Linked DNA regions of Homo sapiens: all the other regions are linked to region 4. Evidence: promoter capture Hi-C in human tissues and cell types (Jung and others, 2019). All regions are on one chromosome and are shown on one strand. Each heading gives the region's core, a stretch centred on a gene start or on the middle of the fragment in contact. The rest is flanking DNA. Distances are from core to core; before and after follow the strand shown.

Region 1 (4,304 bases), core at 972-3,471, 450 kb before region 4:
AACTCATGACAGAAAATCATTTTTGGCTAAGAGCCTCATGATTCTATGAACAGTGTTTTACCTAAGTTCTAGATAAAGGATCTGGTCTCCTTCCGCTCTCCCTGATGAAAGGGTAACCACAGTTGCATATCTTAGGAGTATTTTTAAGTAATCATCTGCCTCTCCTCTAGTACTTGTGTAAAATGCTGTTGCTCTTTGTTTTATAATGATCGTTTTTTAGATTAGTTGTGCTGCTTAATTATCAATGGTTCAGCTTTGTGGTCTTCATTTTTGTGTGTGTGTTATTCTTTATAAGAATGGCTAAAATCTCTTTGTAGGTTCCCGTTAAACTCATTTCATTCTCCTCTGGTAGGAAGTAGTAGGCTTAGTATTGTTTCAGACAACTTTGCTTTCTTATCTGATGCTTGATCAGGCATTGGGAACTTAGAATGTACTCATGTAGGACTGTGAAGGTGTGATGAGATCAGGTTGTAATTAAAGCATCAATGCATTGCCAAGACAATAAAGCCAGATTTCTTCTTAGAACTCCAGACAATTAGAATTTTCTAAGAATGATTTTAAAAATAATATATTAGTTGTGGCAAGATGAGAAACAAGCTTTCTGGTAATTGTTGTTACTCTTAAGCACACCTTAATTGTAGAGGGGATATATCTTACAACAAAATTATTTTTTAAAATACTGAAATTTTAAACACTTCTAATGAGTGAGCACACGTAGGATAGTATATTTCTTATTAGTTTCATTCATTCCTACCACATTTGATCATTTGTCATGTGCTACCCTTTTTTTCAAGGGAATAGTTTAAAAATCTTAATATATACACAGAATTACTAATATCCTATATTTTTTAAAGCATATGTGTAATTTCCTAGTGTTTCTGAATCTAGTATTAGAAATTAAGAAAGAAAGATGAAAAAGATGGGCTGGAGAATGGAAACTAGTAAAAATAAAATTTAATTGTTTTTCTTTGGAATAACTTTATAGACATTATGAGTTGTGAAATCACCAGCAAAGAGTTGCGCTTCCCTCCTAATTATAGCTTGTATGAAAACAGTGGAAGTAAAATATTTTAATGATAAAATAATTTCAGTACTGGTTAAGCAATATATATTAGTCATCAGATTATGGAATTTTGAAATATTTTAATCTTATTAACAAGCCATAGGATACTTGAAGATATCATATTTGAACATATTCTAGAACTACATTTCTCTTGGGCTTTAATTACAGCATTTAGAAATGAAATCTGGGAGACTCTTCTGTGTTGTAGTAGATGATTTGTAACCCTCTTTCCATAATATCCAATTTAATACTAAAAAAACTTCTAGTGTACAATGATAATGTAATGAATATATCATACATAAAACTTGTATTCTCTAGGTTGATGTTATAGCCTACCTTCTCTTTCACCACTGATGTATTTGCCATATAAATCCTCATTACCTCATTTTAGTACTCAAATAATTATTATTACTCTGTCTCCACCACTGGAGTAAGCTCTCTTCAAGGTCTAGGGCCTTGTCCTGTTTATATTTTCAACACCTAACATAGTATAGCCTCCTTTTTTCTTAACATATGAAAGAAATTGATTGTCTTCAAAAGCAGTTTATATTAGGAGCTTTGTACTAGTAAATAGCCCATAGGGATGAAAGAATATGAAATTAAAGTCTTTTGCACTTGTTTAAGCTCAATTTATTTTGGTTCTGAAGTTGTGTACTTTTTAGACTCTAGATCTCGTTAGAGCATTACAAGATCTGGAAAATGCAGCCTCAGGTGATGCAGCAGTTCATCAGAGGATAGCTTCTTTACCTGTTGAAGTCCAAGAAGTATCTCTATTAGATAAAATAACAGGTAAGAAAAGAAAATGTGATCCAGAACTTTTTTGGGAGTTGGGATGAGAGAACAGCATATGTCATTGTTTTTGTTGTATAATATTTTATTATCCCGTGCTTTTCTTAGATAAAGAATCTGGAGAAAGGCTTTCCAAAATGGTAGAGGATGCGTGTATGTTGCTGGCAGATTACAATGGCAGATTGGCGGCAGAAATAGATGATAGAAAGCAACTCACTCGAATGTTAGCAGATTTTCTTCGTTGTCAAAAGGAAGCCCTTGCAGAGAAAGAGCATAAATTGGAAGTGCGTAACCTTTTTCTTCTTTAGTGCTTATTTATTTAATTCTCTTTTTGTTAGGAATTTTAAAATATTTTAATCTATGTGCACATTTTGCATTTTTTAACATAGACCTTTTTAAGCAGTAGCCCAGGTAAGCTTCTCCTTGTATTAATGGTTTTTCTTCTACTTGAACCAAATTAATCTTGCAAGTAAACTTAGAAATTTGGAATTAGCAAAATTGATTGCATTTAAAAATTATTCTTGTGAAATTCCATGCAACTATAATTTATCTTACCAGTTTAACCCTAATGTATCACAGAAATAATAGGAAAATAGCAGGTGGCAGTCACTTGTAGTAGGATTTATTTAGTTTCTGTTTTGAGAAGATGTAGTCTTTTAGGTATACCATTAAGTCTTTAAATTACTCCCTTAATTCCACCCGCCAATTCTAATGCTTACATGTTCCAGCCCCACTCCCGGCTCACACTCTTAGGCAGAAATTCATTGCTCCTGTAAATTAAGTAATAATTAATACCGCTAATGAGAAATCTGGGAGTACAGGAGGTGATTTTAAAAAATGCTCGTATTTCCTTTGATTAGAGTAGCAATTGTTAGGGATACATGAGCCAGATTTGGTTTTATGTAAAAAAAATCTTTCAGTTGATGAGTTCTTGTTTAAATTGTATTGCTGTGGCAATTTCTTATTGTAATAATATGTAGGAGAATTTCTAATTTGAATCCCTTTATTTACAGAAAGCTCACTGTAAATTTGTAGGAATGTCATGGTACTACCCCATTAAGTTATTTTTATTAGTGTTTAGTTATTGATTCAGCAGTCTCTAATTGTGCCAAAAATGGTGCTTAGATTAGATTGCCATTGCTACCCATGGGAGCTGCTACTTAATTATTCCCACCTCAAATTCCCAGCTCTCAAGTTAGCACTACTCCTTTGCAATTTACTCCTTCTCTGCTCGTATAAATACCCTCAGATGATGATAGTTGGTGGCCACTATACCTTTGAAGAGGTTGCCCACTTCTACATGGAAAGGAAAAGATGGTTTTTTTTTTTAAAAGATGAATTTGATAATTAACTTGCCACTATTTCACCTTGTGATGAAACCTCAATTTTAAACATAGTGTTAATTGTTTTATTGTCCACAGAATTAAGGGTAAGTAATGTCATACAATTTTTGTCTTTAGTCTTTTAGTATGGTTTCTTTAACTTCTATTGAGCTTCTGTTGCAGATATTGGACATGGGCGTATCTTCTAACGATGTCGTCACCATTAGTATATTCTTCCTGCTAAAAATAAATATCAAACCCTGAAGCCTGTATTGTCTCATGTTTTTGAAAATTGAAGAGAAGACTGTAACTTTATTCTGCTTTATACTTTCTCACTTATGATGATGGTCATTTGTCACTGTTTACAAAAACAGAATTTATATTTGAAGTGTAACTGTAGAAAATAGATCAGATGCCACTCCCCACAACCCCCTTTTCCCCCAGTGCCTTCCAGCCACATTTCATAGTTGACAGTCATAGATTATGAGGCTGATGATAATAATAATGTTAACATTCATGTGTCAGGTACTATTCTAGGCACTTCACATAAGCAACTCATTTAATCTTACACAGCAGGATGTATTATCCACATTTGATAGATACAGAACTGAGGCACAGGAAGATTAAGTAACTTGCCTAAGGTCACAAAGAGCTAGTGAGTTGTTTGGAACGCAGAGAATCTGCCTCCAGAGCCAGTGCACTTCATCAAAAAGACACATTGCTTCCTGTTTTTACTTAAATCTAAGATTAAAGCAAATGCTAAAGTCCTATTTTTTCCAACTTTTTCTGCTCCCTCTCTTCTCAGAGGTAATCACTGTCTTGAAATAAAGCCTTCTAGGAACTTTTTTTGTTGTTCTTCTGCATAACTGGATTTTATATTATAAAGAAGAAATCACCTCAATTATGTTCAGCTGTTTTTTAACAAGTAAATACTCTTTACAAGTACAGAAATAAACTTGAAAGTTATTCCACAGAACTCTTTGTAAATTATCACTTAGAACTATGTTATTCCTTTGTAGAAGATGTGGAAATGATTTGAGATATTTAGACTTTTTTGTACCAAGTAGGTGGCATCACTTTGAAGTTGAGACTGAGAGGTGAAGATTTATGTTTTCTGAATCAGCTGTGAT
Region 2 (4,154 bases), core at 361-2,860, 350 kb before region 4:
ACTATCTTGCACTTCTGGGCTGCATAGAGTGGGATTATGTGAGACAGCACAAGCTGGGGTTGGGGATGCTGTCACAGCTCACATGAAACTGTCTCCCACAGTTGCAGCTCCAGTCAGAGCAGGGTAGATGGGATGGTCATAGTCACCAGAAGTGAGCAGCTGGCTTTGGAGCTGGACTACCTGGGATCAGGTCCCTAGCTCCATCACTGATTAGCCATGAGATTTTGGGCACATAAACATTACTTTTCTTGTCAGTGTAACAGGGGTAATAATAGTGCTTACCTTATGGAGTGTTGTGATCAGTAAAGATTAGCTATGGTTATCCAACAATGCTCTCCTTGTTTAAACTGTGTGCAAATCTCCCTTTTATCTTTTAAGGTGGGCAAGACTTCTCGGTGTTTCTGTATTTCTCTTCTGTGCCAGCACATGCTCAATGAAGTACCCCTTCCCTTTCCAGTTGCATACTTTAGGGTTTTGCAGCTTAGCTGCCCTTCTGAGGACTCCCCCACATGGTTTCCCTCCTCCTTTTTCATCTCTCTGCTTCTCCACCTCCCTACCCTGTTTGTCCTCAGGGTACAGAGGGGCTGCAGAGTTCAAGCCCTCAGTGTGCCCTCCTGCTGCTGCTGACAACAACCCTGTGGGGCTGGGATCACATTGTACTTCCTTGAAAAACTCACTGCACCCCGCCCTACTTTCTTGCAAGTGCTGATGTAAACATTTCTCTGCCAGAATCTGATAACATTCTAACACTGCCAGTACATAGATTAATGTCAACACTTTTGGTGATGCTCTAAATACAGATAAGCTAAAGTGGTTCAGCTAATGTCAGCATTCAAGGGCCTAAACTTCCCAAACTGACTACAGCTGCTCTAGAGCTTACTTACTACTGCTAGGAAAAAGCGTCATACCTCCCAGCAAACATAGATATTTTTCTTTTTCAGATAGTAAGATACAGGTTGAGTTGAGTATCCCTTATCTGAAATGCTTGAAACCAGAAGTGTTGCAGATTTCAATATTTTTCAGATTTTGGAATATTTGCATTACATTTAGTTGTTCAGCATCCCTAAGTCAAAAAATCTAAAATTGGAAATGCTCCAATGAGCGTCTCTTTTGAGCATCATGTTGGTACTTAAAAAGTTTTGGATTTTAGAGCATTTCAGATTTCAGCTTTCCAGAGTAGGGATACTCAACCTGTAATAATTTTAACCTTGGCTGACAGAATGCTCGGAGCTAAATTGTATGTTCCAACCTAAGAGTTATACTTCACTGATGTTTTCTGATATATCCATCTTTTCCCCTGGATAATTAACTCTTATTTTATTATCCTAATATATAGGTATTTTGTTGTAAGCCATGTGAAATCCTTATAGAAGTAAGCAGTGCGTGAGTAGAAAATGATGCGTGAATTATTAGAGGTGTCATTGCCCCATGAAAATATACAACCTATGTTGGTTATATAGTCGTTCCTGAACACAACATCTTTCAAGGCCAGGATTTCTAAAACTCATTACATGAGTAGTTGGTAGTTTCCATTCTCTTTTGTTTAATATTTCAGAGGATATGTAGTATTTTAGTGAGGAGGTTTTGGGTGCAGGGTACTAAAAACCTAATCCAATGCACAGGTTTGAACATTAGATGGGATTCACTAAGTTTTTGCGACACAAATGCTTGGTGGGCTCCAGGTGTGGTTTGATCAGGGTTCTGGTTCTGTCTTAACTTCTCTTAGTTTCTCTTGCCCTGTGTGGGCTTTGTCTTCAGGCTGGCTTTCCTCGGCAGGGCAGGCCTGCCAGTTGTCTCTGATGAAGACATACTCTCTCTGCAGGAGTTCATCCCTGAACAAAATACCACAGCAAGGGGAGTGGGGGATGCCCTGATTGGGCTAGACTGGTCAGGCCCGGGCTGATGCTGGGATGCACGGGGGAGTCAACCCCACACAAAACCCAGGTGCTTCACAGTGGGGGTGGGGTGGGGTGGCAGACAGGAAGGGAGGTTTATTCTCACTCCATTGACAAGGCTGATGAAAAGAACCACTAGGAGAAGAGCTACTATAAAACTCTGCACATATAATTATTAGGGATGAACAATGCCAGGTTGTGCTTGATGGGCCTTCTAAGTCCTTTTGGAGCCCTCTCACTTTCTGGTAAGCCTTTAGACAAAATCTGCTTTGCGATGCCTCTAGAATGGGGCAGGTGGAAAGCTTCCTGCAATTACATTCCTTTTATATAATGTTTCTCCACCAGAGGTTTGCAGTTTTATAGGATTCACCTGCCAATTGGCAACTGATTTGAGACACGTTAGTGCATCAGCAGAAGTGGGGGACATGCCGAGGGAGCAGCCTGGTGCTTGGCGGAATGTATCCTCTAATCACTTTTCGCCAGAAAGACCCTTAAAGCAATTATACGCTTCTGCAAAGAGAACTGGAAAAGGGTTCTGGATACTTTCTCCTCTTAATTAACCAAAGAATATGCCAATTCTTTTTAGAAAGTAAACTTTTTTCCCTAGTAACTATATTGTCCCATATCTGGTTATAATTTGTGTCTGAAGTAAGTAATTAATAGAGGACTGCCAGAATTTATGAGAATAAGAAACCCCATGAGTTCACGCGTGCACACACACACACTCAGAGGACATTGATATAGTTTGGATACTTGTGCCCTACAAATCTCACGTTGGAATGGCAACCCCAATGTTGGAGGTGGGCCTAGTGGGAGGTGTTTGCATCACAGGGGTGGATCCCTCTTGAGTGGCCTGGTGCCATCCTTGCAGTAATGAGGGAGTTCTTGCTCTACCAATTCGCCCAAGATCTGGTTATTTAAAAGAGCCTGAGACTTCCTTCTCTCTCTTGCTCCCTCTCTCACTACGTGATATACTGGCTCCCCTTCACCTGCTGCCATGATTGGAAGCTTCTGAGGCCCTATGCTTCCTGTATAGGCTGCAGAAGCATGAGCCAAATAAACCCCTGTTCTTTATAAATTACCCAGTTTCAGGTATTCCTTTATTGCAAAGTAAACAGTCTAAGAAAACTGCTGTTTTCTTTACTTGTAATGTGCTTTTCACTGCCTAGCTAAAAGGAGACAATGGCCTCTGTAAAGCACCTTGTCATGGACAAGTGATGCTGGCATATCATTATAATTGTGACCTATGAAATCTTTGCCTATTCTCAGGTTTCAAATATTTTTCTCCTGACAGTTCTATATAGTATACCCTGCTTATCTGCTGGGGACATATTCCAAGACCCCCCAGTGGATACCTGAAACCATGGATACTAAAGAACTGTATATATACTGTGTTGTTTTCCTATATGTATTATTATAAAGTTTAATTTATAAATTATATTATATTATATATAATATTATATTATTATAAAGTTTAATTTATAAATTAGGCACAGGAAGAGATTACAGCAAATTATAATAAAACAGACAATTATAATGATATGCCAGCACCACTATTCTTGCACACTGGGGCCATTACGAACTAAAATAAGGGTTACTTGAACATCAGCACTGTGATGTCACGGCAGTTGATCTGATAACCCAGATGGCTACTAAATGACCCATAGGCAGGTAGCATCTACAGTGTAGATCCACGAGACAAAGGGATGATTCACATCCTAGGAGGGACGGGACAGATGGCCTGAGATTTCATCATGCTACTCAGAACAGCACACAATTTAAAACGTATGAGTTGGCCAGGTGCAGTGGCTCACACCAGTAATCCCAGCACTTTGGGAGGCTGATGTGAGTAGACCACTTGAGCCCGGGAGTTCAAGACCAGCCTGGGCAACATGGCGAACTCCTATCTTTACAAAAAATACAAAAATTAACCAGGCGTGGTGGTGCATGTCTATAGTCCCAGATACTCAGGGGGCTGAGGTTGGAGGATTGCTTGAGCCTGAGAGACCAAGGCTGCAGTGAGCCAAGACTGCGCCATTGCACTCCAGCCTGGGTGACAGAGTGAGATTCTGTCTCAAAAAAATTTTTTTAAAAAGGGATGAATTATTTATTTCTAAAATTTCTCTTTTAGTTTTTTGGATGTGAGTGGATGATGAGCCACATGTCCCTTTGGTTGGCTGAGGGTAACTGAAACCATGGAAAGCAAAACTGTGGTTAAAGGGGGACTACTATAATTTTAGCTGTATTATGTTTAGGTCT
Region 3 (4,262 bases), core at 762-3,261, 400 kb after region 4:
TTACAGATTGGAAAAGATAAAAAAGAGCTCAATAATATGCCATGTGTTGGGTGTGAGGGGAAATGACTGCTCGCAGACACTGTTGATGGAGGTTCAAATTTGGGGCAATTTGGCAGTATATATGTAAATGTATTTCTTTGACTCAGCAGTTCTATTTCTAGGAGTTTGTTATATGGATTTACTGACACATGTACAAAGATACATTTACAAGACTGTTCATTGCAGCATTGTTATAACAATAAAAAGCTGTTATAACAACAATATCTATAATGTGTCTATTGTGGATTAAATTCTGTGTACTTTAGAATGTGACTGTATTTGAAGGTAAGGCCTTTAAAGAGGTAGTTAGGTTTAAATGAGGTCATAAGGATGAGGCTCTAATCCAATATGGCCACTATCCTTAAAAGAAAGAGGAAGAGACAGCAGAAGCTACTTTGCCATTCAATATTCTAAAGAATTTGAACACGAATATTCACAGTAGTCTTTATTTTACTGCTTAGATTCTCAAAAAAGAAAGAAAGCCAAGTCCTAGACAACTGAGACCTAGAAAGGAAAAACATGCCATTTTTTTCTGAAAGATCAAATTTCATCAGAAATTATCAATTTTATAAGTATTAATATTTAAATTGATAATTCCATCCATAATATAAAATGTAATATGATTTAGAAAGGAATAAAGTAATACAAGTAAGGTGTAAGGAAATGATTTAACAACGACTCTAATTCAAGGGACCTCACAGTGTTCAAGGCTATACATAAGGTAATACTGGAGTCCAGGTAATTTTATCCTAGAGCACGAACACCTAAGACTCTCAAATAACTTAGTGGGGAGTTTAACCTTGTGGTTGAGAGCATGATTTTTGGAATCAGACTCTATTAATTAGGGCCCCAGCAGGAATCAACAGATACATTCAAATTATTTTAATTTATGAGAGATTTAATTCAGAGACTATATACAAGGATAAAGTGAAATCACATTGGATGGTGCAGAACCTCAGAGCTAGCAACAGTATAGCTGTTACTGCCTCTGGCTTGAAGGGGTGAAGGAGTGGAGAAACTGGTTCCTGGAAGCTGAGGGAGAGAGTCTTGTAGAGAGTACCACCTTGGGAAGCACAGTGATCTTCAGTTGAGGGACATAGACAGCTTGAGGTGACTCCACAGCAGGGGACCCCAGGGAATAAGCACCTCAGCCTCTGATCTCCTGATTGGCCCCCATTGGATGAATCAACTGGAATCCAGAAGGAAGGACACTGACACCCATGGATGCAGTTTGTAGAGGTTGACCACCTGGCACTGAAGTTAGGTGGAGAGTGAATCTGGCAAATGAAGAAGTTGGCATACAGACCCAACTGAATTTGAATCACAGCTTTACTAATTCTTAGCCATGTACCTTTGGGCAAGTTAGTCATTACAAGCTTATTTCCCCATATGTAAAATGGCATTGATAATCCTATCCCAAGGGGTTGTTGTAAGGATTAAACGAGCTAATTTATAGAAAGCCTTTGGTATGATGCTTCACTCATAGCAATGATCAATACATGCTAGCCACTTCAGTGTCATCTTTGTTGTAATCAGCTCATCAAATCCTCCAGCGATCATATTTTTAACACATGCCTGCTTTGGTCTTAATCTCAGAAGGATCTATTGACTAAGACAAAGATTCCCCTGAGGGGCCGTTTTGACCTCCTGCAGAGGGGAAGTAGCATCTAGTGCTGTCGCTTTGCCTAGCATTGTGCCCAGTCAGCTAAATCTTGGAAGCCCTAATTTGATTCCTATTAGAGGTCTGACAATTGACAAAATGATATTACTCACCTTTTTTGTTTCTGATTTTTCATTTCCATGAATACGTTATACTGTTAGAGGGTGACAATGTTAATATCTACTGGATGGTAATAATTTCTGGAAAGTACATGAGACACAGAATACCACCATGGTTGGGGAAAGGACAATGACTTTTATACATTAGCTGCCAGGATTCTTGGCACTGTTTCTGAAAAACTGTGTGGCGGTCTATTTCTGGAACCTAACCATGGATAGTTCATTTTATTTTTGTTTAGAAATATGATGTTTTAAACATGACTTTGGAAAAAACATCTGTGCATCTCATCATAAGCCACAAAATGAGTAGAACATAAAATTTTGTTGAATGGGAAAGCATTAACTTCTCAACAGTGTATACAGCTTAATCCGCAATAGAAAGAAAATACATGAGAAAAATGTCTTAGAGTAACATGTCCTCATAACTGTGATTTCTTAGGTTGTGGTTATTTTTATCCTAAAAACCATCCACCAAAACATTAATTTTGGAACATGTAAGATGAACCCATGAACATTGCATTTTAGCTACTTATTATATACACTCAATTTTTCCATTATAAACAACAGGCCTTTTCTGTGTTTCTTTTAGTTTGATTCTCTCTTCTTATAATATGAAAGTGTCCCCGCTGAAATTTGGTCAATGTGGCCAGCCAAATTAGGGACTCACTTTTCTATGTTTTGAGATTCCATTTATCAGTACCTTCTTACCTGCTCATCACTGTAGGAGGAGCAGTCAGCCCAGAGATTCTCAGCTCTGGTTTGGCAACACTTTGGCCTGACTTCAGTTCCCATAAGAAATGCCAAGAACAAAGTAGTTTCACCCTGAAGAACAAACTCAGTGGCATTTTAAGAACAGAGCCTTTAACACATGATTGTAAGGCATTCTGATTACCACAAGTCCTTTCTGGAATGAAATCCAGCGTAGAGAAATAAAACTAATACACTAGAAAAAGAATATTATAATTTTTTTTTGTCTGTGGGGCATTGATTTAATTATTTCCAATAGTGTTCTGTGGAGAATGTTTTTCTGTTTCTAGAATAATTAAAAATTACCACTTAAATTTTGCCATCTTCACAATCGATTTAGGTAACGGAACAGCTATGAGATCATTGGAAACAGTGTTTACAACCTTTCCTTTATTTTTTAAAATTTAAAAATTTTTGTAGATTCAAGGGTTACATGTGCAGGTTTGTTACATGGGTATATGGTATAATGGGGAGGTGTGGGCTCCTAGTGTACCCATTACCCAAATAGTGAACACTGTACCCAATTGGTAACTTTTTTAACCCTTTCCCCCTTCCTACCCCATGCCCCACTTTGGAGTCCCCAGTGTCTATTATTTCCCTCTGTACGTCCATAAACTTTCCTTTTTTGATGATACATTTGGTGCCTCTGCCACTCAGCAGCTGTGATCAATTGGGTCACGATGGAATGGCTTTCTGCCATGAATATTCAGGGAGACTTTGCCTGTGCCATGAAGGTTTATGATGGATGGGGGGAGCAGGAAGAGCATGGGATCTTTAGGACGTCGAAGGGAATGGATCGACAGTTGGGTAAATGAATTATTTTCCAGTGTCACAATAGTGAGGTTTCTTTATATTGCCTTTGTGACATTTTCATTGCTCCTTGGATTCTTGATTCTGGAGGAGGAACAAAAGTGTTTTTTTGTTTTGTTTTCTTGCCAGATCTCCTTGAGTTAGACAGGGCCCATTGGTAGAATGGAGGCTGCACTTGAACTGGGTTCTGAAATTGGATGGGAGCCACTCTACGTGGGATTTTAAAATCAGGTTTCTGGGTCTGTTGGTTCTTCCTCCATATGGGTTGTCCCCCATTCAGAGCTTAGCAAGGATAAGATTTTGTTCTATATCCCTAAGCTTCTATGACAACAATATCCTAGGATCTCTCCACTCTCCTTCATACCCTCAAACGGTTACTACAACCGTTAGAATCTCTCTTGTAGTAAGAAAATAACCCCACTGAAATTTTGATCAATCTGGCCAGCCAAATTAAAGACTTACTTTTCTATGTTTTGGGATTCCATCCATCAGCACATTCTTATCTGTTCATCACTGTAATAGGGGCAGTCAGCCCAGAGATTCTCTGCTGCACTCAGGACCCTTGGGTTAATGTAAGTCCACATCTTCCCTGCTAGGAGGATGGCAATTGAGGAAGGAAGTATTTTAATTTTATATTAATTTTTAATTCCAGAGAGCAGTAATAATCCCATTGCCTTTATTATAATTTTTAAGGGATGTATTACCCACTTTCATTTTTCACTTTAAAGAGTAATGTCAGAATAATATAAGGAAAAATATAAAGATTAGCAATAAAACTGTGTTTGGCTATTGCAGATTTCTTTTTCTAAAAATTCAGTACACTTTTTATAACATAATTTCATATAATGTCACATTTTAAATAAAATCCTATGTCAGTCCCCTCCCCT
Region 4 (4,171 bases), core at 598-3,097:
CCAACAAGCATTTATACCAAGTGCTTATTGCTTACCAGGCACTGTAAAGTCTTCAGTGATACATGGCTGGAAAAGGAAGCCACAATCTCTGCTCTCATAAAGCTTAAACTCTATTGAGAAAGCCAGGCATTTAACAAGTATTTGCATAAATGGTGAGTGCTCCCAAGAGTTTTGCAGTCTGCTGCTTAAGAGGCACCAAACAAACCAGCAGAGCAGTCATTAAACGCAGTTATCACCAGCACGCTGAACAAAGGCTTCTCAGGTTTCAAAGTGCACACAAATAACTTGAAATCCTGGTAAAGCAGATACTGATTCAGTTGATGTGCAGCGGGGCTTCACATTCTGCATTACTTGAGTCTGAGGTGACAGGGATGCTGCTGGTACACCATCCACACTTGGAATAGCAGGACTCGGAGTACCATGGAAACATCCTCAAAGGATCATGTAAAATGTCAATTCCAATAGGGCAAGGACATTGTGTCTCCCTTATTCACCATGTACCCAGAACTTAAAACTGTGCCTCATAGACAGATCGCATTCAGTAAATATTTACTGACACAACAAATGTATGTATAATTTAGACCAGGGCTGTTCAACTGTAGCAAAGAACCACATTTAGCTATGGAACACTTGAAATGTGGCTACTGTGACCGAGGAGCTGAATTTTTAAAATTTAATTTTAATAGTCACATGTGGTTAGTGGCTCCCACGCTGGACAGTCCAGGTCTGGACACAGATGTGATGTAAAGAGGACTGGACTAACAAGGTCTAGGTTTGAATCCCAACTCTGCTGCTCAGATTGTGACCTGAAAAGTTGCAACTTCTTAGGGCCTTCACTATTTCATCTGTGAAATGACAAGACCTCCTAACTCTCAGCGTTCTTGACACGATTATAAAGCAATGTATTAAACATAAGATATGATCAAAGTGACATTCTCTGCCCTCCAGAAACAGTTCAGAAAGACTACTTTGCCTATTGCCCACTTGACCAAAAAAATGCCAAGTGAGTTTGGTAGACGGGTTGGTTAGCTCAGTGGCTTTGAGAATGAGGACAAGGTCACAAATCTGGGGAGTAAGGGAACCTCATCTAGCAAGGCTGACCAGATAAGAGAAGCAATGACAATGCAAATCATCCCAATTCCTGGTAAATGCTTAAATGGGCAACGTATTGATTATGGATGAGTAAATGACATCTCATTCATTCATTCTTCCAGGAAAAGCGGAAAAGCTACTACATTACCTAAAGCCCGCTACTTCCCAACCACAAACATTTGCTAATTTAGGTCCGGGTCCTCCTCGGGGGCAGCGGGCCGGGAAGCCCCCTCCCCCGCTGCCGGCGTGTCTTCCCCTCCCCCGTGGCGCCGCGAGGGTCAGGCTGGCACCGCGGTTGCAAGTACCACACGGCCGAACCCAGAAGCCATATTTAGCTTTATTTTTGTCAATAAAACAAACTTCCGTCTTCTAAAGAAAAACGGTTCTAACTCAATGTCAAACTAGGACGGAAACTCGCTGCTCGCCAAAGCTGCCAACCAGAGACGCCGCGTGTCCAACGGCACCGGGGTCCCAGACCCGAACCCGCGCCGAGCGTGCCCGCGCCCCGGCCCCAGGCAGCGCCGGCCACAAAGGGACCGGGGACGCGGCCGCGGCGGGGCCTCTTTCTCCACCTCCGACCCGCGCGCAGCGCTGCGGCTCCGGGACTGCCCAGCCGCGGGCGATACACTCACCTCGCTAGGCGCGCGGCGGCGGCGGCGGCAGGCGTCCTCCGGGCCGGCCGCGGCGGTCGCGGCCGGTCCCGCGGCCAGCGCGCTACTCTCGGGCCGCCGTCCGCCGCGCGCTCCTCGGCCACTGCCGGCGGCTCCCCCGGCGGGCGGGCGGGTCCGGCCGGGCCCCGCTCCGCCGCGCCCGCCCCCGCCTCCGCGCCCGGCTCGGGTCGGCGGCTACTCCGGGCGCCCCGCTCGCGGGCTCGGGCGGCGCTACTCCGGGCCGCCCCGCATGCGCGCCGCCTGCCCGCTCACTTGGGGCTCGTCGCGCGGCGGGCGCCGCAGGGCGCCCGCAGGCGCTCGGGCGCGGTCCTCCCTGCGCTGCGTGCTCGGCGGCAGCGGCGGCGGCGGCCCGTGCGGCTGCGCGGGGGAGGCGGGGGCGCCGGCGCTCACCCGGATGCGCGCCCCCTCCGCTGCGGCGAGCCCACCGCGGGGCCGCGACGCTCCCCTCGGGCTCGGGACTCCGGGGTCGGGCGCGGCGCCCCTCCCGGACCGACCGCCCAGTCCCGGCCCCCGCTCACACGGCTACGGGCAGGGCCGGGCCAGGCCGAGAGGTGCCCCCGACCCTGGGTCGGGACAAAGAGGCTGCCGCAGCAAGTTAAAGACAACTCGGGCTGTTGCGCGTCGAGCAGGTCACGGGGTGGGAGGAGATGGAGGAGCCCTCACAGCGGATCGGCTCCCGGGCCGAGCGCGGGGCCGCCCCAACCCGGTCGGCTGCCTGAGGCGGCCGCGAGCGCGGGAGCTGGAGCGCTGTCAGCCGCGCTGAGCCTGCGCCTGGCGACCGCGATGCAGGAGGCCCGGGACTGAGGGAGGACGGCGAGAGCGGAGGCCCGCGACCCGCACCGCCGGGGCAGGCACCCGGGTCTCGGGGGCAGCAACGCCGGGGCCCTTGCAGAACGGGGACTGTTTGGGGAAGTGGCTCCCGCACAGTGCCCGGAGAGGGGCCCTCCCTCTGTGCCCCCTTGGGAAACACTGCTTGGTACAATTCCAATACCCAGCTGTACCCTGCCCTGAAGATAGAAGACAAAACCCTGGCTCTGTCACTCACGCGAGGCATAACCAACCATTCTTTTAATAAATTAATTTTCTACTTAAATAATTCAGAGGTTTGTGTCTTATTGCTTGCCAACCAAGAGCTGCAATAAGAGATTACTTAATATTTAAGTGGTCCCACTTTTAAATTTATATTACCTCTCACATAACCAAAAGGCTGTCCGAAAAAAAAAAAAAAAAACCTGAAGATTATCTCTGGAATTTTAGTATCCTGTTTTTGCTTGTCTACATCTTCCAAGTATTCTAAAATAAAAGTTAAAAGTTACTATTTTAAAAGTACTTATATAATATTTTGAAACAAAGTCAATCATGACTAGCCTGTTACTGTTCCACAAGGAAACTTCACTTTGGAATAAAGTTGTCATCGTTAAAAAATACTCTTATCTTGGGAGAAAAGATTGGCAAATCATATATCTGTTAAAGGACTTGTAGCCAGAATGTATGAAGAACTCTTACAACTCAGTAATAAGACTAATAGTCCAATTTTAAATGGGCAAAACAATTGAATAGACGTTTTACCAAAGATATTTAAATGATCAACAATTACATAAAAAGGTGTTCAACATCATTAGTTAATAGGGAAATGCAAATTAGAAGCACAACAAGGAAGTTCTTGACACCCACTACACTGGCTGTAGTACAAAAGACAGACAGACAATAGCAGTGTTGGTGAAGAGATGGAGAAATTAGAACCCTCATACGTTGCCTATGGAAATGTAAAATGGTGCAGCCACTTTGGAAAACAGTTTTCCAGGTTTTTTAAAAAGTTACACATGAAGTATTCTATCACCCAACAATTCCACTCCTAGGCGTATGCCTGAGAGAACTGAAGATAAATTCATACAGTAACTTGTACATGAATATTAATAACAGTGTTATTCATGATAGCCAAGAAGTAGAAACAGTCCAAATGTCCAGAAACTGCTGCGTGGATAAAATGCAGTATATGCCATACAGTGGACTACTACTCAGTAAAAGGAACGAAGTAGTCATAGAAGATACAACATAGAGGAACCTCAAAAACGATAAGCTAAGTGGAAGAAGCTAGATGTGTAAGAGCCTGTATTGTAGGATCTATTTACAGCCATGCCCCGGTCAATGATGGGTCACCTGTACAATGGTGGTCCCATAAGATTATATGCAGCTGAAAAGTTACTATCACCAAGTGAGGTAGCCTTCATAATGTCGTTGGGCAATGGGTTACCTTTTCTGTGTTTAGATACACAAATACCATTGTGTTAACAATTGCCTGCGGTATTCAGTACAGTCCCATGCTGTACAGGTCTGTAGCCTAGGAGCAATAAGCTGTACCATGTAGCCTAGGTGTGTAGTAGGCTATACCATCTAGGTTTGTGAGT
Region 5 (3,803 bases), core at 573-3,072, 300 kb after region 4:
GGGCCCTTGCAGATATAATCAAGTTAAGGTCATAAAGGATTAGAGTGGGCCTTAATCCAATGCCTGGTGTTCTTATGAGATAGGCAAATTCAGACACAGAGGAGACAGAGGAGAATGCATGTGATGATGGAGGCAGAGATTGGAGTAATGCATCCAAAAGGCAAAGAATGCAAATGATTGCCAGCAACCTGAAGCTAAGACAGTGGGATGGAACAGACACTTCCCTAGAGCTTTCAGAGAGAGTATGGCCCTGCTGGCACCTTGATCTTGTACTTCTAACCTCCAGACTATGAGAGAATACATTTCTATTATGCCATCTTGTTTGTGGTACCAGAAGTGGGGTGCTATGTACAAATATCTAAAAATATAGATGTGGCTTTGGAATTGAGTAAGTGATTGAGCTGGAAGAGTTTTGAAATTCTTAATAGAAAAAGCCTTGAAGAGACTGTAGAAATAGGAGGATTAAAGGTGATTCTGGTAAGGGCTCAGAAGGAAGTAAAGAGGACAGTAGAGAAAGTTACATTTTAGGGAATACATACATTGCTATGAAGAGAATGCTGCTAGAAATAATGAACATTAAAGATACTTCTGGTGAGATCTCAGATGAAAGGAGGAACATGTATTAGAAACTAGAGAACAAGCAATCCTTGTTAGAAGTGGCAGAAACTTGGCTGAATCATGCTGTGCTATTGGGTGGAAAGTAGAACTTGTAACTAATGAACCTGAGTATTTAGCTGAGGATATTTCCAAGCAAGGAGTAGAAGGTGTAGCTTGTTTTTTCCTTCCTTCTTATGGTAAAATATGAGAGGAAAGAGATACACTGAGGAGGAAACTGTTAAGCAAAAATCATTTGATGATTTGGAAATTTCTCAGCCTATCTCAGATAGCATGCTCTGGAGACAGCACTGGGACAAACGTTTTGGTGAAGCGATTAGGTGTGTGATTTATGGATCCAATTAACTATTTCAGCAGAATCCAGGATAGAAATTGGGTTATCCAGGAAGGATCCATAGAGAATCCTTGTGCCTAATTGTATGGATTCTCTTAAAATCTATGGAAAACTGACAAGGATTTTGACAATGCTATCACCAGAAACACTGCTAATTTTGAAGAGGACAGAGACAGGATGAAAAGAAGAAAAGCTGTCCAACTTCTGGTATTACAAAAGCAGGAAACGAGGTACCCAGAGGGTGGGGACACTACCAAGGGCAGAGATGGCAGGGCCACCTCAGCTGAGGGTGGCTCAGGGACCAGTGAAGCCTCTTAGAGTCTAGAAGATAGGACCAGTTGGGTATCTATAGACCAAGAGGTTGGGGACAGTGAGGATTCCACTGACCCAGAGGGCATATTGAGTCAGCATAATTTGAGAACTCCACAAATATTTGGAAATTAAATAACATAATATAAATAACCATGATCCAAAGAAGAAATCATAAGAGAAATTAGAAAATTCTTTAAACTGAATAAAAGTGAAGTACAACATAAAATATTTTATGGGATGCTGCAAAAGTAATGGTTAGAGGAAATATTATAGCTTTAATATGTCTATTTTAGAAAAAAAATTATCTAAACCTAAGCTTCCACCTTAAGAAACTAAAAATGAGAGCAAACTTAAAAACAACAGCAACAGAACAGCAGAAGGAAGGAAGTACAGTCATCTTTTGCTTGATGCTAGGGATACATTCTGATAAATGCATCATCAGGTGCTTTTGTCTTTGTGTGAACATCATAGAGTATACATCCACAAACCTAGATGGTATAGCCTACTGTATTAGTCTGTTCTCATGCTGCCAATAAAGACATACCTGAGACTGGGTAATATATAAAGGAAAGATGTTTAATTGGCTCACAGTTCAGCATGACTGGGGAGGCTTCGGGAAACTTACAATCATGGCAGAAGGGGAAGCAAACATATCCTTCTTCACATGGTGGTAAGAAGAAGTGCCAAGCAAAAGGGGAAAAGCCCCTTATAAAACCATCAAATCTCATGAGAACTCACTGTCATAAGAACAGCATGGAGGTAGCTGTCCCCATGATTCAATTACCTCCCACTGGGTCCCTCTCATGACACATGGGGATTATGGGACCTACAATTCAAGATGAGATTTGGGTGGGGACGCAGCCAAATCATATCATTTTGCCCCTGGCCCCTCCCAAATCTCATGTCCTCACATTTCAAAACATGATCATGCCTTTCCAACAGTCCCCCAAAGTCTTAGCTCATTCCAGCATTAACCCAAAAGTCCAAATCCAAAGTCTGAGACAAGGCAAATCCCTTCTGCCTATGAGCCTGTAAAATCAAAAGTAAGTTAGTTACTTCCTGGATATGATGGGGATACAGGCACTGGGTAAATACACCTATTCCAAATGGGAGAAATTGGCCAAAACAAAGGGGGTACAGGCCCCATGCAAGTCTGAAATCCATTGGAGCAGTCAAATCTTAAAGCTCTGAAATGATCTCCTTTGACTTCATGTCTCACATCCAGGGCACACTGATGTAAGAGGTGGGCTTGCATAGCCTTGGGCAGCTCTGCCCCTGTGGCTTTGCAGGGTACAGCACCCCTCCTGGCTGCTTTCACAGGCTGGCATTGAGTGTCTGTGGCTTTTCCAGGTGCATGGTGCAAGCTTTCAGTGGATCTAACATTCTGGGGTCTGGAGGACAGAGGTCCTCTTCTCACAGCTCCACTAGGCAGTTCCCTGTTGGGGACTCTGTGTGGGGACTCCATCCCCACATTTCCCTTCCATACTGCTCTAGCAGAGATTCTCCATGAGGACTCTGCCCCTGCAGCAAACTTTTGCTTTGACAGCCAGGCATTTCATATATCCTCTGAAATCTAGGCAGAGGTTCCCAAACCTCAATTCTTAACTTCTGTGTGTCCACAGGCTCAACACCATGTGGAAGCTGCCAAGGCTTGGGGCTTGCACTCTCTAAACCCACAGCCCGAGCTTTACGTTGGCCCCTTTCAGCCATGGCTGGAGCGGCTAGGATGCAGGGCAACAAGTCCCTAGGCTGCACACAGCAGGGGAGCCCTAGGCCCCACCCACAAAACCATTTTTTCCTCCTAAGCCCCAAGCCCTGTGATGGGAGGGGCTGCTGTGAAGGTCTCTGACATGCCCTGCAGACAGAAAACTGACTAAAGAAGAAATAGAAAATGTGAATAGATGTATAATAAAGAGATTGAGTTAGTAATTTAAAAAAAAAAAAGGCACACAAAGAAAAGCCCAGGCCCCAAGGGCTTCACTGGTGAATTCTACCAAACATTTAAAGAAGAATTAATACCAGTTCTTCACAAACTCTTCCCCTCCCCAAAACAAGAAGAAGGAATATCTTCCATCTCATTTCATGAGGCTAATATTACTTTGATATCCAAATCAGTCAAATACATCACAAGAAACATAAACTACAGACCAGTATGTCTTATTCTCAACAAAATACTAGTAAACTGAATTCAGTAACATATAAAAAAGGATTTTCTACTACGACCAAGTGGAATTTATCCCAGGAATCCATCTGAGCATCAGTTTAAAAATCAACCAAATCCATATCAACAGAATAAAGGACAAAATATGCAGAAAAAGCATTTGACAAAATCCAACACCTCTTCATAAAAAACAAACGTTGAAGAGAACCAGTATGAGAAAAAAATGGGATATCTGGAAATGGAGAATGTCATTACAGACCAACTTCAATAAGTCAGTTATGAATAAAAGAAAATAAGAAATAGGGTAATAGTGGAGTTTAGGGATGGTTTATTTGCTTGGTTGGTGGCTTGATAATTTTTAAGATAGGAAAGATATGTAAT
Region 6 (4,138 bases), core at 999-3,498, 490 kb before region 4:
TCTGTTCCTACTTGTTGGAAGTTCTTTCTCTTTTTCTTTTTTCTTTCTCTTTCTTTTCTTTTTTTTTTTTTTTTTGAGATGTAGTCTCACACTGTTGCCCAGGCTGGAAGTGCAATGGCGCGATCTTGGCTCACTGCAACGTCCGCCTTCCAGGTTCAAACAATTCTCCTGCCTCAGCCTCCCGAGTAGATGGGATTATAGGTGCCCACCACCATGCCCAGCTAATTTTTGTACTTTTTGTAGAGATGGGATTTCACCATGTTGGCCAGGCTGGTCTCGAACTCCTGACCTGGTGATCTACCCACCTCGGCCTCCCAAAGTGCTGGGATTACAGGCTTGAGCCACCGTGCCCTGCCCTTCCTTTTCATTTTTTGAGACAGGGTCTTGCTCTGTTGCTCAGGCTGGAGTGCAGTGGCACAATCATGACTCACGGCAACCTCTGCCTCTCAGGTTCAGGTGATCCTCCTACCTCAGCTTCCTGGGACCATAGGCGCATACCACCATGCCCAGCTAATTTTTAAATTTTTAGTAAAGACAGGGACTCACTATGTTACCCAGGTTGGTGTCTAACTCCTGGGCTCAAGCAATCCTCCCACCTCGGCCTCCCAGAGTGCTGGGATTATAGACATGAGCCACACATCTGGCCGCAAAGTTCTTGAACGATGCTTGTCAAAAGATAGTTTAGGAATTCCTATGGTTTCTTATGTATCTTTCTGGAAGTTTCTTGTATTAATATTTAGGGCCAGGCATGGTGGCTTACAACTGTATTCCCAGCACTTTGGGAGGCCGACACAGAGGAGGATTGCTTGAGCCCAGAGGTCGAGACTGCAGTGAACATGACTGAACCACATACTCCAGCCTGGGCAACAGAGTAAGACCCGGTCTCAAAAAAAATTTTAGAATATGATGGTGTATGCATTAGATTAACAATGAGATTTCTGTAATTAATTTTTAACTATATAAGTAATATATTCACGTATTCTTTTTGTAAAAATGAAAACAATATGGACACAATTTAAGGGCTCCAATTCTGATCCTCTCCCTGAGACCAGTATTCATGTGGTGTGTATTCCTCCAAACCTTTGCCATGAGTTTACGTACTTGTGAACCCATATGAACTACATACCTTTAAACAAGAAGTGGTATACTATACTTTTGCTTCTGTAATTAAAAAAAAATCCAGCTGGGCATGGTGGCTCACACCTGTAATCCCAGCATTTTGGGAGGCCAAGGTGGGAGGAATGCTTGAGCCCAGGAATTCGAGGTTGCAGTAAGCTGTGATCATGGCACTGAACTCCAGTCTGGGTGAGAGTGAGGCCCTCTCTCAAAAAGAACCTCATAAAAACCCACTCAAACCCTTCCAAATCCACCATATCTTGGATTAATCCATATTTTAAACTGCTGCATGTATTATGGAATATAGACGTATCTGTGTAGACTGCAACAGTGAATGTTCCAATTTTTCACTGTTACTGTGTTGGACTGAACACCTAGAATAAGCTTCCTGGTGCAAACATGCTGGTGTTTTTTCCAGCACTGACAGCAATTAGTGAAATTGCTAGGAAAGAGTATTCTTATAATTTTTAAATTTTTATTCATTTTTCATTTTTGTGGGTACATAGTAGGTGTATATATTTATGGAGTACATAAGATATTTTGGTACAGGCATGGCAATGCCTAATAATCGCATTATGCAAAGTTGGGTATCCATCCCTTTAAGCATTTATCCTTTGTGTTACAAACAATCCAATTATCCTTTTAGTTATTTTAAAATGTACAATTAAATTATTACTGACTCTAGTCCCCTGTCATGCTATCAAATACTAGGTCCTATTTATATTTAGTCCTTCTATTAGTCCTTCTATTTAGCCCTCCCCCACTACCCTTCCCAGCCTCTGGTCACCATCCTATACTCTATTTAGGAAGGTGTATTTTTAACCGTAATTGGTCATGCAAATAGTCTTTAAAGTGCCTGCCCCAATTTATACCAGTTTACATGCCTATGTAGAGATCTGTAATCACTGCTTCTTTGACAGAGTTTCCATTAAGGAGGGTTCAGGCCTGGCAAACTCCCACCATGCCTCTGAGAGTAACCCAGGCATCACGCCCCTGTCCGCCTCCCCTGCACTTGTTTCGACTCCGCCCCTTCCGCCTGGCGGTTCCACTTCTCGGCCGCGCGTTTTCCCAGGGCTTGCAGCGGGAGGGGCGGGGCGTGGGTCCCTGTGACGTCACTGCCGGCCGGACGCCATCTTGCTGGTTTGCGGCCGGTCTTGGATGAAGCGGCGGCCGTGGTGAGAGCGTGGGGAAGGGTGGGGTGAGGGGGCGAGGCCGCAGCTAGGGCGGCGAAACTCTCCTCCCCTCGGCCCCACCGCGTGGGACGGCGTGAACGTGGTGTCGGAGGGATGTCAGCCTTCTCTGAGGCGGCGCTGGAGAAGAAGCTGTCGGAGTTGAGCAACTCGCAGCAGAGCGTGCAGACCTTGTCCCTGTGGCTCATTCACCACCGTAAACACTCGCGTCCCATCGTCACCGTGTGGGAGCGGGAGCTGCGGAAAGGTGAGTCAACCGCTTATGTCGGCCGCTTCCCACCACCCGGCCGGCCTCCAGGCGCCCCCGGGAACCCCGTTTCTCCAGCGCCCCCGGCTTCCCGGCGTCGGGATGCCAGCGCGCGGTGGTCTGCGGGCTTGGAGGAGCTGCGTGCACCACGCTTCTGCAAAGTCTGGGCTTAGATATTTATTGAATAAAGGAATGAATAATTAAAAAAGAAAACTCCGGTTAGCTTAACACGGAAACAGTAGCAGGGGGTTGGGACTCCACACCCAATTAGGGCCAGAAATTCAGGTGGTCAGGTATTTTTTTCATTCTGTGAATGATAATGGAGGATAAGGGAGGGAGAAGGTAGGGGAGTGGAAAGAAAAAGATTGGTGTGGGTTTGGGAGTTACTTCCGTCATTTCTGTAACGCAGCAACTTATTCTTGTGAAATTAATAGAGGAATAGTTTTAGAAGTCTAATATAAGAAGATGGGTAATGCAGTGGAAAAGACTCTGAATTTGTAGATTTTAGAGGGTCTCAATTGGGCAAGTTTCTTATAACTTCTGCGTTGCAGATGCCTTACCTGAAAAGGAGAGATTTAGAGTAAGTCACCTAAAGTCCTTTCCTATTCTATGATTATATGCCCTAATGCAGTGTCTTTGTTTTGCAAAACATTTGATAGTGTTCCTGTAAATGAAGTAAACTTTTTTGAGATGTCTGTCACTAAAATATTCAGAATCAGTTCATGTATGCAGAGCAACTTTGTAAAAAATTATCCTAGTGCGACTGAAAATAAAAAATTTCATTTGCTTAGTCTGAGCTTGTACTTTAATTCTTAATTCATTGGGTAGAGTGGACACTCTTCATTATTGTTGCAAACATCCTGATGGATATGATGGTTTTTTATCAAGTGTTAAAGGTTTTAACCGTTATTAATCAAAATAGACGCTTGCTTACTGAACCTTGTGAAAGCTATATGATGTATGTACGTAACAGCCAAAATGTGAGCCAAAATGTTGGCTGTATATAATGGAGACAATCTGTCCTTGTATATTGTTTGTGGTTATGAAAACGTCACCCATCCTTGAGAAGAAATTGATTTACAGCCTTGTTTTTCAGTTTATGTGTAAGTATGTGTGTATTGGCCCTGAATGAGGAATTCATCTTCTGTGAGTGGACGGAAAGGTTTCAGAAACACTGATATAAAGGTCTGGAAAGTAGCTGTGAACTTTGAAAAGTCAGGAATTAGCTTTGCTTTTACATTTTACTAGATTTCAGAATCGGTAACAGGTTTATCTTGTTTTTTGTTTTTGCAGAGAGCATTTAGAAACACATGTAATCAGTATAGGGTTGATACCCAGACTCTCTTAATAACTATTACAAATCAGTAAAAAAAAAAAATGGCAGTACTGTTTATAGGCATTTCACGTGAGGAAACCTGAAAGGTCAATAAATGATACTTAATCTTACAAATCAGGAAAAAGTAAGCCAGTGAGGTACCACTTTATGTTCATCAATTTGGCAAAATAATATGACAATATGGATAATTGTTGCAGAGAAACAGGAACTCTTATACCACTTGGTGGGAATGTAAAAATATGTAACTAT

What was found. Contacts are between HindIII fragments. The study calls those that stand out against the background at their distance.
Region 1: a contact is called between a fragment that was not itself captured here and the fragment with the promoter of GALNT1 in region 4, in 1 of the 25 tissues and cell types used here (H1 embryonic stem cells).
Region 2: a contact is called between a fragment that was not itself captured here and the fragment with the promoter of GALNT1 in region 4, in 1 of the 25 tissues and cell types used here (lymphoblastoid cells).
Region 3: a contact is called between a fragment that was not itself captured here and the fragment with the promoter of GALNT1 in region 4, in 1 of the 25 tissues and cell types used here (lymphoblastoid cells).
Region 5: a contact is called between a fragment that was not itself captured here and the fragment with the promoter of GALNT1 in region 4, in 2 of the 25 tissues and cell types used here (dorsolateral prefrontal cortex and lymphoblastoid cells).
Region 6: a contact is called between the fragment with the promoter of RPRD1A here and the fragment with the promoter of GALNT1 in region 4, in 2 of the 25 tissues and cell types used here (dorsolateral prefrontal cortex and spleen).

The regions. Positions count from the first base shown.
Region 1 is chr18:36,024,732-36,029,035 of GRCh38, reverse strand. It overlaps RPRD1A (regulation of nuclear pre-mRNA domain containing 1A), which reads left to right. Exons shown (of 7, transcript NM_018170.5): 5 at 1,726-1,852; 6 at 1,961-2,136. Among named protein-coding and RNA genes, the nearest start is that of RPRD1A, 41 kb to the left of the region's middle. RefSeq lists a silencer at 3,696-3,990. The HindIII fragment of the contact is 4,412 bases long and covers 16-4,304 here.
Region 2 is chr18:35,933,688-35,937,841 of GRCh38, reverse strand. MIR3929 (microRNA 3929) reads left to right here and starts at 3,700; the gene lies at 3,700-3,754. The HindIII fragment of the contact is 7,355 bases long and covers 1-4,154 here.
Region 3 is chr18:35,184,284-35,188,545 of GRCh38, reverse strand. No RefSeq gene overlaps it. Among named protein-coding and RNA genes, the nearest start is that of ZNF397, 55 kb to the left of the region's middle. The HindIII fragment of the contact is 5,625 bases long and covers 1-4,262 here.
Region 4 is chr18:35,579,416-35,583,586 of GRCh38, reverse strand. GALNT1 (polypeptide N-acetylgalactosaminyltransferase 1) reads right to left here and starts at 1,847. Exons shown (of 12, transcript NM_020474.4): 1 at 1,725-1,847. RefSeq lists a silencer at 2,106-2,805. The HindIII fragment of the contact is 13,517 bases long and covers 1-4,171 here.
Region 5 is chr18:35,275,698-35,279,500 of GRCh38, reverse strand. All of the region lies in intron 1 of ZSCAN30 (zinc finger and SCAN domain containing 30), which reads left to right. Among named protein-coding and RNA genes, the nearest start is that of ZSCAN30, 13 kb to the left of the region's middle. The HindIII fragment of the contact is 6,261 bases long and covers 1-3,803 here.
Region 6 is chr18:36,065,669-36,069,806 of GRCh38, reverse strand. It overlaps RPRD1A (regulation of nuclear pre-mRNA domain containing 1A), which reads left to right and starts at 2,248. Exons shown (of 7, transcript NM_018170.5): 1 at 2,248-2,553. The coding sequence starts at 2,403. RefSeq lists enhancers at 2,069-2,298, 2,010-2,525, 2,409-2,548. The HindIII fragment of the contact is 14,008 bases long and covers 1-4,138 here.